Regions from separate parts of the Homo sapiens genome. Here region 1 is linked to region 2. Evidence: promoter capture Hi-C in human tissues and cell types (Jung and others, 2019). All regions are on one chromosome and are shown on one strand. Each heading gives the region's core, a stretch centred on a gene start or on the middle of the fragment in contact. The rest is flanking DNA. Distances are from core to core; before and after follow the strand shown.

Region 1 (3,851 bases), core at 1,175-3,674, 290 kb before region 2:
CTAGCTACTCGGGAGGCTGAGGCAGGAGAATCGCTTGAACCCGGGAGGCAGAGGTTGCAGTGAGCTGAGATCCTGCCACTGCACTTCAGCCTGGGCGACAGAGCAAGACTCAGTCTCAAAAAAAAAAAAAAACCCAAAACCAAAATCCAGATGCTGGCAAGGTTGTGGAGAAATAGGAACATTTTTACACTGTTGGTGGGAGTGTAAATTAGTTCAACCATTGTGGAAGACGATGTGGCGATTCCTCAAAGATCTAGAACCAGAAATACCATTTGACCCAGCAATCTCATTACTGGGTGTATACCCAAAGGAATATAAATCATTCTATTACAAACATACATGCATGTGTATGTTCACTGTAGCACTATTCACAATAGCAAAGACATGGAATTAATCCAAATGCCCATCAACAATAGACTGAAAAACTGTGGTACATATATACCATGGAATACTATGTAGCCATAAAAAGGAATGAGATCATGTCCTTTATAGGGACATGGATGAAGCTGGAAGCCATTAACCTCAGCAAACTCATGCAGGAACATGTTCTCACTCAAGTGGGAGCTACACAGTAAGAACACATGGACACAAGGAGGGGAACAACACACACTGGGGCCTGTTGGGGGGTAGGGTCAGGGGAGTGAGAATATTAGGAAAAATAGCTAATGCATGCTGGGCTTAATACCTAGCTGATGGGTTTATTGGTGCAGCAAAATTTGTGCAGCAAACCAGCATGGCACACATTTAACTATGTAACAAACCTGCACATCATGCACATGTACCCCAGCACTAAAAATAAAAATTAAAAGAAAAAAAGTTTAAAATATTTCAAATGCTTTAGTTTAATATGACATATTTGGCATAAAATTTATTGTCTTAAATTTTTTTGTATCCCACTTTTTTTTTTTTTTTTTTTTGAAACAGAGTCCTGCTCTGTTGCTTAGTCTGGAGTGCAGTGGCATGATCTTGGCTCACTGCACCCTCTCCCTCCCAGGTTCAAGCGATTCTCATGCCTCAGCCTTCCCACTAGCTGGGATTACAGGTATGTGCCACCATGCCTAGCTCACTTTCTTTCTTTCTTTCTTTCTTTTTTTTTTTGAGATGGAGTCTCGCTCTGTTGCCCAGGCTGGAGTGCTATGGCGTGATCTCGGTTCACTGCAACCTCCCGGGTTCAAGCGATTCTCCTGCCTCAGCCTCTCAAGTGGCTGGGATTACAGGCACATGTCACCACGCCCGGCTAATTTTTGTATTTTTAGTAGAAACGGGGTTTTACCATATTGGCCAGGCTGGTCTCGAACTCCTGACCTTGTGATCCGCCTGCCTCGGCCTCCCAAAGTGCTGGGATTACAGGCGTGAGCCACTGCGCCCGGCCACTTGTATTTTTTTTTTTTTTTTAAAGGCTGGGTACGGTGGCTCACGCCTATAATCCCAGCACTTTGGGAGGCCGAGGCGGGCAGATCACGAAGTCAAGAGAGCGAGACCATCCTGGCCAACATGGTGAAATCCCATCTCTACTAAAAAATAGAAAAATTAGCCGCGTCTGTAGTCCCAGCTACTTCGGAGGCTGAGGCAGGATTATCGCTTGAACCCGGGAAGCGGAGGTTGCAGTGAGCCGAGGTCGCACCACTGCACTCCAGCCTCGTGACAGAGCGAGACTCCGTCTCAAAAAAAAAAAAAAAAAAAAAAAGGGAGGCCATTGTAGGGAGGCCATTGTAGCAATTCAGGGGAGAGATGAATCCAGGCGACAGATGATGGGAGGTTTGGAGCAGGGAAGACAGAGAGAAGTGGAGAGATTCCAGATATATTTGAGAGACAAAACTGATAATTTGGGGTAAGGGAGGTGAAGGAGGCAGAGGGATCACGGACGCCCTCCTTGGTTTCTGGTTTAGGCTACTTGACAGATGGCGGAGCTATGCAATTGAGAGAGGGAATCCTGGGAGAGATTATGAAATCTCTGTATCTTCCGCAAGAATGTTTGTTTGCTTCCCTTGCGAGTGTAAGACGGAGCCGGGAACATTGAGGCTTGGGGCTGGGACTCAGCAGCTCTTCTGCCCTTGCCGAGAACTCTGTCTATATCTGTATTACAACACTTACCATAGTGTATTCATTTTACAAGGTATTGCACCCAGTGAACCATGAGGTAAGAGAGCAAGGGAAGAGTTTCTTCTCGGTGTCTCTAGGACTTTGCCCAGCAGCTGGCCCCGCCCCCTCCAGCGCTCTCCGCCTAGCCCCGCCCCCAGGAGATTTCCGGCTTCTCGGTACTGGCCTAGCCGTAAAGGGCTCCGCTCCGCCCCTAGAGCAACCGTTTCCTCCTCAGTCGGACCAGAGTGATTGATTAGTTTGTTGTCTAATCATCAGTCGAGCGGCCACATAATTACCAATTAGGCAGTAGCAGAGGCGGGTGCCGAAGCACGGGGTCTGGGTGACTAGGAAGAGCCGAGACTGCGAAGGAGAACGCAGCAAGCCCAGGCGGCGGTGGAAAGGTGATGGGGTATCTGGATTCCATAGGTTTTTCCTTTTCCCCTTGCTAGGTCAAGAGTCTCTTCGCAGCTTGGGGCTAGGATCTTCATTTGCCTTTTTTCTTTTTTGGAGGAAGGGGGCTGTGTCCACATATTTAAGTATTTGAGGTTCTTGGGCAACTTCCTTCTTACTTCGCCTCGAGGCGTATCCTTTTTTTAGCCTGAGGTGGGGTCCTCCCCAGGGAGAGAGAAAGTTGTTTGAGATCCTTTCTTACTCTGTGCGTGGTTAAAGGCCTCCGTACTCAGTTCCAGGGAAAGGGAGATGAGTGATGGTGGGGCCGAGACTCGCGGGTACTGCCTACTTCCGAAGAGTTAGACGCTTCCACCTGGGTGGAGGGGCCCTGGGAACTAGATTCCTGTGTTAGGAACCAAGTAGGTATTGAGGGCGAAGAAACAAGTGGAAAGAGACATTTCTTTTCTTTTCTTTTCTTTTTGAGACGGTGTCTTGCTCCGTCGCCCAGGCTAGAGTGCAGTGGCGCGGTCTCGGCTCACTGCAACCTCTGCCTCCCGGGTTCAAGCAATTTTCCTGACTCAGCCTCCCGAATAACTGGGATTACAGGTGCCCGCCACCGCGCCCGGCTAATTTTTAGATTTTTAGTAGAGACGGGGTTTCACGATGTTGGCCAGGCTGGTCTCGAACTCTTGACCTCGTGATCCACCCGCCTCGGCCTCCCAAAGTGCTGGGATTACAGGCGTGAGCCACCGCGCCCAGCCAGAAAAGAGACATTTCTTATGTGGAAGTTGTGGTAGTTCTCCAGGTAGGAGAGCCTACTGTGGGGTGGAAGACGTTAGGGCTGGGCTCCGGTGCTAAGTCCACTTCCTACCTCTAGACCGTCATCTTTTTTGCCTCATTTCTTTCTCCTCAGGCTGGAGGACACACCTAAACATGTGGAATCCCAATGCCGGTAGGTGTTTGGGGGTTCTGTTCCACCCCTAACCCTTTTTCTGATGGGCTCTATAACAGGAAGTTTCTGTATCAGCTCCCCTACCCCCGACCTGCTGTACCCGCAAAAGCAAAGTCCTTAGTCTAGAGCTGACCAGTGCTTTTTAATTTAATTTAATTTATTTATTTTTTGAGATGGAGTCTCTGTTGCCCAGGCTCACTGCAACCTCCGCCTCCTGGGTTCAAGCGATTCTCCTGTTTCAGCCTCTGGAGTAGCTGAGATTACAGACGCATGCTATCACGCCCGGCTACTTTTTGTATTTTTAGTAGAGATGGGGGTTTCACAATTTGGCCAGGCTGGTCTCAAACTCATGGCCTCATGAGATCTGTCCACCTCGGCCTCCCAAAGTGCTGGGATTACAGGCGTGAGCCACCGCGCCTGGACTGAC
Region 2 (3,991 bases), core at 676-3,175:
CTCTAATTTTGCTCCCAAAAGGACACTGACGGGGACAGAGCCTGGGATACTGCGACTTGGTCGACAGCCTCCATTTCTCCATCCCATCTCCCACACATCCTGGCTCTTGAATACAAAATCCAACTGAGGTGTGGGGCCCTCTCATTGAGAGAGGTGTCCTTACCTACTCCTAAGCTTGTTGACCCAGCTGTATCCAGGAATGAGTTATGACATCAGAAAGCAGCAACTAATCTCTGAAAGGAATGGTTGAGTTTTCAGAGCTAGAATATGGCTGGGGGTCGAGGGGAACTGAGCCCAAATCCTTAGGCTCCTGAGCTCTCAGCTCTTTTCATCTCTCTGAGCTGCCTACCCCCATGAATTCTAGGGAAGCAGAAAGCTTCTGCTGGCATCCAAGAGACAAAGGGAAGGGGAGGATATAAGGAAAGACAGGTTCTGTCCCTTGACTTATTATTCCAGGAAGTCAAGAATTCTGGAGGCGGCAACTTCAAGGGTGGAGTGAGGCGCTTAGCAGGAACGTGGTGGGGGTGGGGAGATGGAATGTGGGGGCCTGGAGCCAGGAAAGCCCCACCCCAGGGCAGGGAACAGACTAGAAAGTGGGAAGTAAGGGGCCCCAAGAAGTGGAAATGTATATTTAACGTTGAGGAAAGGGGAGATAGTTCAAAAAGAACCTAACATTCTTCTCTCCAGACTGTGCCTGCAGCAGGACTAGAAACCTACTGGTTTCACTTTAGTATTTCTCTCCTCATTTTCTCTCTGCTCCCCTCAGCCTCCATCCTTCCATCTGTTTGTATTGGTAGCTGGAGACACACTACAGGATGGGGTTGAGAGGAAGGGGTGTTCCAAGTTAGCTGGGGAGAGTTAATTGGAAAATATGAGGGTGGGGTGAGGACAGATAACAATAATAACGATCAAAAGAACTCCTCAGTCCAGGGCTGTGAGATGGCCCTCTTATTCATCACTCCTTTCCAGCCCACTAATCTATTTCCTGTGTCACTCACAGCTGACATGTCCAACCAGCCATTGTCACTAGTCATATGCACGCCCCCAAACATCACAAACCCACACCAGGCTGAAGTCCAGGGGACAGGAACTTTAAAAGAAAACAGAAACTCAGTGGATAAAGGTGAGCCAGCAACACAAAAAGGAGCAACTTCTGTCCCCCAAATAGGTAGAACAAAAAGTTTTTTTTAATGTTCATCTCCCTGAAAAATTCCTGGTTGAAACTAATCCATGTTTTCTCCAAATGCAATTCTTCCAGCTTTCTAAGGGTGGGGGTAAATTGTCCCCAAAGATATACCTGGAGAACCCTAAAATACACCCCACAAAGAAAATCCGTAACAGCTGTAAACGTTCTTCATGTCCGAAAGAAAGTTTTGGGCACCTAAGATGTAGGTGTGTAGCCTGATTCAGATGTTCACATGATGGGGCGGAGAGCGGGTGTCCCATCCCCTACTCTGTAGGGCTCTAGAGTTCCTTGACATTCTACACCTTGGAAGGTCCCCCTTCCTCCCCAGGGATTCAGCGTCGTAAAGGCCTTTGGATTTGCGTAGGGGAGAGAGGGAAGACGTGTAGGGGACACGTCTTGCCTGGGAGCGAATAAGCAGATTTCAGCTCCCTTGAAGGGATCAGCTTTATAGAGACGCATTGAGAAGAAGGAGAGGACGACGAGGGGGCGCCCCCCACCCCCAATCAGAGTCCCCTTGAAACCAAGAACTCCCCAAACAGCGGGGGTGGCTTCTCCAGTACGGAAAGGGTTACAACCCAAACGCTCCTGTATTCCCCTTCGACAGTTCCCTTACGTTATCCTTCCCCAAACTGGAAAGTGGGGTGACCCTCCCCTCCCATAAGATCGCCCCCAATTAGGCCAAGTTTCTTACCCAACAGACGGATCAGCTGTTCCCCTCACCTTTCACCAACAACAAAAACAGCACTCCGACTTCTGGAGGGGAGGGAGAAGAGTGGGCGCGAGGGCTTCTGGGGTTTGTGGTTCTTCTGCGCCCTTTTGCCGCTGCGTGCTCGGATCTAGGACTATACATCCCAGAAGGCTGCGCGCAAGGAGGGCGGGGAAGAGGGCGTCCGTGACGGCGGCCTCACCGCGGCATCCTGGGAGGCGTAGTTCTCACTCCTATGACAGAAAACGAGGGTGTGGCCAGCAAAGGACTTCAAGGCCCATGATCCCTTAGGAGGGGGCCGGCTGCATTAGGGGTGGCTGCTGGTTTGTAACGTGCGTTGTTGGGGGCTGGGGAGGATTTACGGCTCTAAAGCCTTCCATATAACGCTTTAACGGTGGGCAGAGCGGTTTCTGTTGCGTCCCGTCCTGTACTTTTCGCACCCACCTGTGAGATAGGCGTTAAGCGTTATGCACGCTTTATAGATGTAGAAAGTGAAGTACGGTTAAGGAGGCGGTGTGAAGTGTCAAAGCTATGAAATGTAGAACTGCATTAGCCTTGGCTAATTCCACGTCATATATTCTTGCCACTACACCACAGCTACCCACCATTTTGGGGATGGGAAACTGATAGCTGGGGTATAGCAGTTTCTTCTTTACTTCAATCTCAGGGACAGACCTTGTAAGAATGATGTCTTCTGCACAGCTGACCATTTTTTTCCAACTTGAGGATTTCAGTGCTAAGGGGCCTGACCATATCCACATCTGGACTGGGCTCCCCCAGAGTGGCTTCTGGGTCTAGGAAGAGGATACAATTGACTGAGGTGGTGGTAGGAGCGGTGGAATGAGAAGAATGAAATTGAAAAGGGAGCTTGGCATAATTCAGGACCTGTCACAATTCACAAACAAGCCACTTATGGGGCCTGTTTGCCCAAGCCTTTTAAGTGGCTTAAATTAATTAGGATAACAATACATGTTGACGTTCCGGTTTTTATTTAGGAGAGGTGAAAGATTGACACGTCTCCCACACCCCAAGTCACGTTATAGACTTGGGCATCCTGTCCCCCCTCTCGCTATTCTCCATCCCTGTAGTCGGAGGCATTCAGAATTACCTCTTTCTCTGGCTCTGCATTAAAGGATTACAGTCTTAAGGATTGATTTCCTCTTCCTAGGTGCCTGCTTTAATTCTCTACTGCACTAAGTTATGGAGCTTCTGCCTTTTCCAAGTTTTTTGGTAGTGTTTTGCTTTTATGACTGAATGCGGTGTCTGCCCTCAGTGTCTTTCATCTGAAGATCTCCAGGCACTTAAAAATTAGTTACTGGGCTGCACAAACATTAAGGTGATGTGTCTGTGTCATTAGTCAGGATTTATGAGTTAGGGAACCAGTTTCTGGATGAGGAGGTAGCTCAAGGTCTGGAGTGGGTTAAGAGTGAGGTCTGTTCAAGGACCCAAGTCTCAAGAGTTCTTGGCTCTTGTCTTCCGCCCAAAATAAAGGTCTACGAGAAAACAGTCTCGGAGCTAAAAATGGTAACAACTTCCATTTCTTGGGTGCTTATGATCTGTTCAAACTATGCTAAGAATTTTCCCATTTAATACAACAGGCTTATGTAATACGCCTTGTTATTATCCCCATTTTACACATGATGAGATTGAGGCACAATTAATGACTTGCCTGGAGTCATCCAGCTAGTGAGTGGCAGAATCAAGATTTAAGCACAAGCAGTCACCATACTCCCAGTCCAGAAACTCTGGCATGTGATACTAACTCCCATTGTTCTAAGGAACAGTGCTGGTTCATTAACAGGAGACAAATGTTCACTGAGCATTTATGTGCTCAGTGCAAGGCACAAAGTAATGTGAAACAGATTCATTCAACAAATATGTGGCAGGTACTATGCTAGGTATTCAGTTACTTTTATTGAAAGAATGAATAGTAAATATTCATTATTTTAAAATAATATATGTAATTCATTATTTTAAAATAATAAATGTAATTCATTATTTTAATTATAGTCATTACTTTCAAATATTCAAGTATTTGAAGGATAGATTAAATTTGGATAGTTTGGCAAGATGGGGACTGGGGAGGGTAAGCTTCTTCT

What was found. The method cuts DNA at HindIII sites, captures the fragments that hold promoters and counts their contacts. A contact is called where the count stands out against the background at its distance.
Region 1: the fragment with the promoter of PRR13 here is called in contact with the fragment with the promoter of CALCOCO1 in region 2 in 1 of the 25 tissues and cell types used here (spleen).

Annotation. Positions count from the first base shown.
Region 1 is chr12:53,439,310-53,443,160 of GRCh38, forward strand. PRR13 (proline rich 13) reads left to right here and starts at 2,425. Exons shown (of 4, transcript NM_018457.4): 1 at 2,425-2,483; 2 at 3,386-3,424. The coding sequence starts at 3,406. RefSeq lists enhancers at 1,397-2,162, 1,893-1,982 and a silencer at 2,273-2,422. The HindIII fragment of the contact is 13,829 bases long and covers 1-3,851 here.
Region 2 is chr12:53,725,527-53,729,517 of GRCh38, forward strand. It overlaps CALCOCO1 (calcium binding and coiled-coil domain 1), which reads right to left and starts at 1,926. Exons shown (of 15, transcript NM_020898.3): 1 at 1,878-1,926. It overlaps LOC105369774 (a long non-coding RNA gene), which reads left to right and starts at 1,053. Exons shown (of 3, transcript XR_944973.3): 1 at 1,053-1,123. RefSeq lists enhancers at 1-701, 2,019-2,078. The HindIII fragment of the contact is 5,999 bases long and covers 1-3,991 here.